2 separate regions of the Homo sapiens genome follow, and region 2 is linked to region 1. The links are contacts of gene promoters, found by promoter capture Hi-C in human tissues and cell types (Jung and others, 2019). All regions are on one chromosome and are shown on one strand. The core of a region is centred on a gene start or on the middle of the fragment in contact, and the rest is flanking DNA. Distances in the headings are between cores, read along the strand shown.

The links. The method cuts DNA at HindIII sites, captures the fragments that hold promoters and counts their contacts. A contact is called where the count stands out against the background at its distance.
Region 2: a fragment that was not itself captured here is called in contact with the fragment with the promoter of SUMF1 in region 1 in 1 of the 25 tissues and cell types used here (mesendoderm cells).

What each region holds. Positions count from the first base shown.
Region 1 is chr3:4,464,927-4,469,029 of GRCh38, reverse strand. It overlaps SUMF1 (sulfatase modifying factor 1), which reads left to right and starts at 1,761. Exons shown (of 9, transcript NM_182760.4): 1 at 1,761-2,054. The coding sequence starts at 1,785. LOC124909340 (a long non-coding RNA gene) reads right to left here and starts at 2,206. Exons shown (of 2, transcript XR_007095789.1): 1 at 1,522-2,206; 2 at 1-366. RefSeq lists an enhancer at 1,535-1,714 and a silencer at 1,885-2,064. The HindIII fragment of the contact is 11,378 bases long and covers 1-4,103 here.
Region 2 is chr3:4,610,260-4,614,146 of GRCh38, reverse strand. All of the region lies in intron 4 of ITPR1 (inositol 1,4,5-trisphosphate receptor type 1), which reads right to left. Among named protein-coding and RNA genes, the nearest start is that of ITPR1, 120 kb to the right of the region's middle. The HindIII fragment of the contact is 6,185 bases long and covers 1-3,887 here.

The DNA.
Region 1 (4,103 bases), core at 512-3,011:
AAATGTGTGAAAGGCCTTGGCAAACTGTAAAATAGTCAACAAGGAGAAAAGGCCTTTTTTTTTTTTTTGAGAGATGGTCTCACTTTGTCACCCAGGCTGGAGTGCAGTGGCACAATCATGGCTCACTGCAGCCTCTGCCTACCAGGCTCAAGTGATCCTCCTGCCTCAGCCTCCGAAGTAGCCAGGACCACCGGTGTGCGTCACCATGGCCAGTTAATTTTCTTAATTTTTTGTAGAGACAAGGTCTTGCTGTGTTGCCCAGGCTGGTCTCAAGCTCCTGGCCTCTAGCGATTCTCCTGCCTCGGCCTCCTAAAGTGCTGGGATTACAGGCTTGAGACACGGTGCCTGGCTGGTCTTTTCTTTATGCTAAAAAAATTCAAACAGATGCTACATTAGAATAGTGCAATAAACACCCAGATGCCCATCAACCAGCTATGACAGTTATCAACTCATGGCCAATCATGCTTCATCTTTAGCCAGACCCTGATTACCCATTTTTTGGGAAGCAAATCTTTGACTGCCTATATTTTTATCCATATATATATATGTGTGTGTGTGTGTGTGTGTGTGTGTATACCTCAGTGAGTGTGTGTGTACCTCAGTGAGGGGATTCTTTTAAAAAATATAGCCACAAATACCATTATTACTCCTAAAAGCCTAAAAACAAAATTTACAGCAATTCCTTAATTTTATCAAATATTATAATTTGACTTAGTGGTTAAATTTCCCTGATTATCTCAAAAATTTTGAACTCAGTAGGTTTGAATTAGTATTTAGATAAGGTTCACATATTGCAGCTGGCTGCTATGTTTTTTTTTTTTTTTTTTTTTTCAGATGGAGTCTTGCTCTGTCCCCAGGCTGGAGTGCGGTGGCGCCATCTCGGCTCACTGCAAGCTCCACCTCCCGGATTCATGCCATTCTCCTGCCTCAGCCTCCCGAGTAGCTGGGACTACAGGCGCGTGCCACCACGCCGGGCTAATTTTTTGTATTTTTTAGTAGAGATGGGGTTTCACCGTGTTAGCCAGGATGGTCTCGATCTCCTGACCTCGTGATCCACCCGCCTCGGCCTCCCAAAGTGCTGGGATTACAGGCTTGAGCCACCGCGCCCGGCCTGCTATGTTGTTTTTTAATCTGTAAGTTTCTCCTTCATCTTCTTTTTGTTTTGGTTTTGCATTTTGTTCGATTACGGAACTGTAGAACAGTGGTTCTTAAACTTAAGTGTGGATTAGAATCATCTGGAGAGCTTGTGAAACCCTGGATTGCTGTGTCCAGTCCCCACGGATTCTGATTCCGTATTGTATTTCTCTTTTTTTTTTGAGACGGAGTCTTGCTCTGTCGCCGAGGCTGGAGTGCAGTGGCGGGATCTGGGCTCACTGAAACCTCCGCCTCCCAGGTTCAAACGATTCTCCTGCCTTGGCCTCCCGACTAGCTGGGACTACAAGCGCGCCATTACTGGGTCTTTGTGAGGATTAAATGAGATTTTAAAAAGTGAAGTGCTTAGCATAGTACTCTGGCACTTACCAAATGCCCAGCAAATTTGACTGTTATTTTTCAACCAAGAAATCATAAAGGGGTGCACGGTCTGTGGAAGGCCTTGAGTTTTGTGGAGTTTTGTGTTTTGCTGCGTTTTGACGTTAGCACAGGCAAGCAGCAGCGCCAAAGAAGTACCTGAAGAAAGGTGAAGAGCAACTCTCCTGGTCACTTCGTAAGTCAGCTCAAAATTCTGCCCCTTTAAGGAGGGCTCAGCCACGTGACCAACCGGGTCACATGGCCCGCGGGACAACATGGCTGCGCCCGCACTAGGGCTGGTGTGTGGACGTTGCCCTGAGCTGGGTCTCGTCCTCTTGCTGCTGCTGCTCTCGCTGCTGTGTGGAGCGGCAGGGAGCCAGGAGGCCGGGACCGGTGCGGGCGCGGGGTCCCTTGCGGGTTCTTGCGGCTGCGGCACGCCCCAGCGGCCTGGCGCCCATGGCAGTTCGGCAGCCGCTCACCGATACTCGCGGGAGGCTAACGCTCCGGGCCCCGTACCCGGAGAGCGGCAACTCGCGCACTCAAAGGTGCTCCATCGATTCCTCCGAGGCGGGTGGGGGCTGCTCGGTTCCTGGACGGGGTTGGAGTAGGCAAAGCAAGGCACTAGTAGGAAGGGAAGTAAAGGTTATAACCACACCCCAAATCGAGCACCTGCTGTTCCCGTATGAGGAGTTCCTTCTCCGTGCCTCACCGGAAGACTCCATTTAATTGACCATTAGGGAGTTTGGTTTGAGGGTTATTGTTACTTCTTTACCCCCTATTTCTTTCTCCCTCCAACCTGTTCTCTTAATGAGGATCTCATAATTTTAAGGCAATCAAATTATGGTTTAAATCACCATTTCCTCTCTTATTAACGGAATAAATTAGGATCCTGGGTCTCAGTATCTTCACCAGGGTTGTTGTATACTTATCTGTAGTCTCCTCGAGTACACTCTGCTTGAGGACAAGGGCTTGAATTGTTTATCCTGCTATTCTTAGCACTTTAGCACTTAGGAAGGGCTAAGCAAACTGTAGTTGTTTTATTGCTATTATTTATCTGTCTTGCTTAGCGCCTGTATGTGTTAGGTGCCGGGATATATAAATAACTTACTGGCCGGGCGCGGTGGCTCACATGCCTGTAATCCCAGCACTTTGGGAGGCCGAAGCGCGCGGATCACGAGGTCAGGAGTTCGAGACCAGCCTGGCCAACATGGCGAAACCCCGTCTCTACTAAAAATACAAAAATTAGCCGGGCGTGGTGGCGGGCGCCTGTAATCCCAGCTACTCGGGAGGCTGAGGCAGGAGAATTGCTGGAACCCGGGAGGCGGAGGTTGCAGTGAGCCGAGATCTTGCCACTGCACTCCAGCCTGGGCGACAGGGCGAGACTCCGTCTCGAAAAAAAAAAAGAAAGAAAGAAATAACTGTTACTTCAATCTGTCTGCCCGGTATTTTGCATATTGATGTGTTGTCGAAACAACTTATGGGTCTAAAGGTCAGGTCTTCTGACTCCTAAACTAGTGCTCCTTCTTGTTTACTTAGCAGACACTATCCTTTTCCCATTCCATTTTTCTTTCCTTTGGGTTAATCCTGACCAATATTTAGGACTTAGGTGAGAGGTAACATCCACAGTAGGTTTTACCTGATCTCCTCTTTCTCTCCCCTTCAATATTTCCGTATCCTGCCTCAGTAGTTATGTGTTTATTCTGACATAACAATTATTAAAGATGTTTTTCTGCTGATGTCTCTCCCCAACTGGACTGTGAGGGTGATGGGGTCAGGACCATGATTTAGTCTCTCAGGTGTAGAGTGTAGGAGGTTGATACCTGGGCTTCTCATTGTTTTTCCATCCTGTATAATTTTTGGCCTTTACTTTTTTTCCTGTTACCCTTAGAGCATGTCCTGCAGTACTGTTTATCTTTTGTGTGTTGAAGACTCCTGATTACTGTTTTAGTGTGTATTGGCCATACTTGATATTAATTCCTCTCTAACTTGCCTGGTAATTGATAATCAATCTCTCTTTCTTTTTTCTTTTCTTTTTTTTTTTTTTAGACGGAGTCTCGCTCTGTCACCAGGCTGGAGTGCAGTGGCGCGATCTCCGCTCACTGCAATCTCCACCTCCTGGGTTCGAATGATTCTCCTTCCTGCCTCAGCCTCCCAAGTAGCTGGGATTACAGGCACACGCCACCATACCCAGCTAATTTTTGTATTTTTAATAGAGATGGGGTTTCACCATGTTGGCCCGGATGGTCTCAATCTCCTGACCTTGTGATCCGCTTGCCTTGGCCTCCCAGCGTGCTGGGATTACAAACGTGAGCCACCGCGCCAAGCCAGTCTGTCCCTCTTTCTAAGGAGAAATCCTTACATCTGTTTATCTATTTTTTAATAGGGCAGCCATCTCATTTGCATATATACATTGGTCTGTCTCAAAATTTTATCTAGATTCCTCTGGCAAGCATTGAACATTTTTCATTTTTAAACATTCTATTTTCCTCTGGGTTCCAGAATGGGATGTGGATGTTAGAATCTTTTGGATTACATTTACAAGATGTACATTTTTCATCCCTATAGAGTGGTTTTGTGTCTTGACTGGATGCTAT
Region 2 (3,887 bases), core at 981-3,480, 140 kb before region 1:
CTAGAGGTATGCACTGCCACGCCTGGCTAATTTTTTTGTATCACAGTCATTATTTGGAGTGAAAGATGCCAAATCAAAGAGTCCATTTATACTGAATGAATCCACTTACATGAAGTTCAAAAACAGGCGCAACTAGAGTGACAGCATTAAAACAGTGGTTATCTCTGTCAGGGGTAGAGGTGGAGGTGGTATTTTCTGGAAAGAAGCACCTTCTTGGGGACTGGAAATGTTATCTATCTCAATCTGAGTGTGGGCCATGTGGAAATGCACATATGCAAAATTCCATCCAGCTATACATTTAAGGCGTGTGCATATATGCCTATATATCTGTATACACATGCATATATGAAATACCTCAATAAAAAATAAAAATAAAATGCTTTTCATGTCCCCATGAAAAGAAGGATGATCCTGCTGATAATGGAAAACAAATTTTCCCTTCATGTAAAAAGATAACAATGTCCAATTTGCACTGCTGGAAAAACATGCTTTGTTTTGTCAGGGTTTGGAGGTTGGAGGCTGCTGGTCTATAAGGAAGAGAGAAAGGCAGAAGAGAGAGAGATGACATCACCGACTCCCCTTATGGCCTTGGTATTTGCGTCACCCACAGGAAACTCAGGCAATGAGCATTCCCTGGCCCAAGGACAAGTGCCTAGAGGAGCAGCAACAGAGGGAAGTTCCCCCCAATTCCCTCTTCCGTGAAAGAAAAATAAATCTTGGGACCCCCAAATCACTAAGCTAAAGGGAAAAGTCAAGCTGGGAACTGCTTAGGGCAATCCAGCCTCCCATTCTATTCAAAGTCATCCCTCTGAGGGTCACCTGAGACAAATGTATATCTGATTGCTTCCTCTCCCCTATTGTTTATGTAAAAATACAGATTCACTGAGCCAGACTAAATTGTATATTTAGTGGAAGACTGACAAAGGACTCAGAAGAATGCAACCTTTTGTCTCTTATCTACTCCTAACCTGGAAGCCCCCACTTTGAGTTGTCCCAAATTACTGGACCCAACCAACGTACATCTTACACATATTGATTAATGTCTCATGTCTCTCTAAAACGTATAAAAGCAAACTGTACCCCCAACCACCTTGGGCCCATGTCTCAGGACTTCCAGAGACTGTGTCACAGGCACGTCCTTAACCTTGGCAAAATAAACTTTCTAATTTGACTGAGATCTGTCTCTGATATTTGGGATTCACATATCCAGACAGCTTTAAAACATTAATAAGCAGCAGTTTTGTTACTTTTGTTTGTTTTGAGATGCAGTCTCACTCTGTCACCCAGGCTGGAGTGCAGGAGCAGGATCTTGGCTCACTGCAACCTCCGCCTCCTGGGTTCAAGCAATTCTCCTGTCTCAGCCTCCCCAGTAGCTGGGATTACAGGCCCCCACCACCACACCTGGCTAATTTTTGTATTTTTAGTAGAGACGGGGGTTCGCCACGTTGGCCAGGCTGGTCTCAAACTCCTGACCTCAGGTGATCCGCCTGCCTTGGCCTCCAAAAGTGCTGGGATTACAGGCATGAGCCACCATGCCCAGACAATAAGCAGCAGTTTTAAAATGTAATCTCTAATGAAATGAGATGATGTCTGACATGTACTTCAAAATGATCAGGGGGACAGAAGTGGGGGGATATAGAAAAAAACAAGATTAGCCATGAGTTGGTCATTGTTAAAGGTGGGTGTTGAGGTACTGCCATTGTCCTTTGGTATCCATGGGGGATTGGGCCCAGGACACCCCTTGGATTCCATAATCCACAGATGCTCAAAAGTGCCTGATATAGTGGCCAGGTGCGGCAGCTCACGCCTGTAATCCTAGCACTTTAGGAGGCCGAGGCAGGCGGATCACCTGAGGTCAGGAGCTCGAGACCAGCCTGGCCAACATGGTGAAACGCTGTCTCTACTAAATGTATAAAAATTAGCCAGGCGTGGTGGTGGGCGCCTGTAATCCCAGCTACTCGGGAGGCTGAGGCAGGAGAATTGCTTGAACACAAGAGACAGAGCTTGCAGTGAGCCGACATGGACTGCACTCCAGCCTGGGTGACAGAGTGAGACTCCATCTCAAAAAAAAAAAAAAAAAAAAGGGCCTGATACACTTGTTATGCTATAATTTTATTTGTATTATTTTTAATTGTTGTATTACTATTTGGGGGAGGTGGTTTCTGAGTATTTTTGACCTGAGGTTGGTTGAATCTGTGGATTGGAACCTTCAGACATGGAAAGCCACTGTGCATGGAGAGTCATTGTACTTTTATTCTCTTGATTCATAAATAGGCTTAAATTATTTTTACAATAGGAAGTTTTAAAAATCATCTATGAAATTTATTTTCAAGTGTAAAATTTTCATAAAAACCAAGCAAGTATTCATTGAATTCAAAGCAAGTTTATTTTCGTTTATTTTTTGAGAGAAGGTCTCGCTGGCACCCAAGCTGGAGTGCAGTGGCATGATCTCAGCTCACTGCAGCCGCGGCCTCCCTCTGAACAGGTGACTCTCTCACCTCAGCCTCCCGAGTACCTGGAACTACACGCACATGCCACGACACCTGCTAATTTATTTATTTATTTATTTATTTATTTATTTATTTTTGAGAGAGAGTCTCGCTCTGTCACCCAGGCTGGCGTACAGTGGCGTGATCTCGGCTCACTGCAACCTCTGCCTCCTGGGTTCAAGCCATTCTCCTGCCTCAGCCTCCCAAGTAGCTAGGATTACAGGTGCGTGCCACCATGCCCAGCTAAATTCTCTAATTTTAGTAAAGACGGGGTTTCACCATGTTGGCCAAGCTGGTCTCAAACTCCTGACCTCAAGTAATCCACGCGCCTTGGCCTCCCAAAGTGCTGGGATTACAGGCGTGAGCCACTGCACTCAGCTGGGCTAATTTTTGTACATATATAGTTTTTTTTTTGTTTTTTTTTTTGTAGAGATGAGGTTTTGACATGTTGCCCAGGCTGGTCTCAACCTCCTGTGCTTGAGCAATCCACTCTCCTCAGCCTCCCAAAGTGCTGAGATAACAGGCGTGAGCCACCATGGCTGGCAGTTATTTTTCTTTAAGTCAAGAAAGACAGACAGACAGAAAGGGAAGGAAGGAAGGGAGGGAGGGAGGGAGGGAGGGAGGGAGGGAGGAAGGGGAAGGGGAAGGGAAGGGAAGGGAAGGAGAAGGAGAAGGAGAAGGAGGGGGAAGGGGGAAGGGGAAGGGGAAGGGGAAGAGGAAGGGGAAGGGAAGGGAAGGGAAGGAGAAGGAGAAGGGGGGGAAGGGGGAAGGGGAGAGAGAGGAAAGGAAAGGGAAAGGGAACAGGAAAGGGAAAGAGAAAGGGAAGGAAAAAGAAAATTTGCCACTCCACCTGAAAACCAGTATGTTCTGGAAAGGAGGCCATAGCTGGGCGGACCTGTGGAATAAGTGGTGCACAAAAAAAATGAGAATGCCCTGCCCTAAGTTAGATCTGTGAGTAACAAACAGTAACCATGGACTTCGGGTTAAACCCTTTGCTGAGGAGAACTCTACATCCTCAGTACCTCTCAGTACCTCATTAAAGGCAAATGAAATTTCCCTGTGCATTCCGCTGGCTATTTAAAAAAAAATGACAATACTTAAGAATCTCTGAGGATATGCCACATCTACAAAAGGGCATTCAGAAAGCCTGGAGCAGCTGGCATGAAAGGAATTACATAAGCTATTGGCTTGGTCATCGAGATCCTCCAGGAAAAACTCTTTTCCTATCAGGAACTCCCACTACACAAAGGAAGAGCAGACTGTCTCTCTTGAAGCAATTTTATTTCTCTCTCATTCAAACAATTATTAAGTGCTTGTGTGCTGCAGATACAAAGTCAATAAAACCTGGTCCCCGAGTGTCATCAGGGAGAGGGAGGAACCAACAGGAAACTCCAAGGT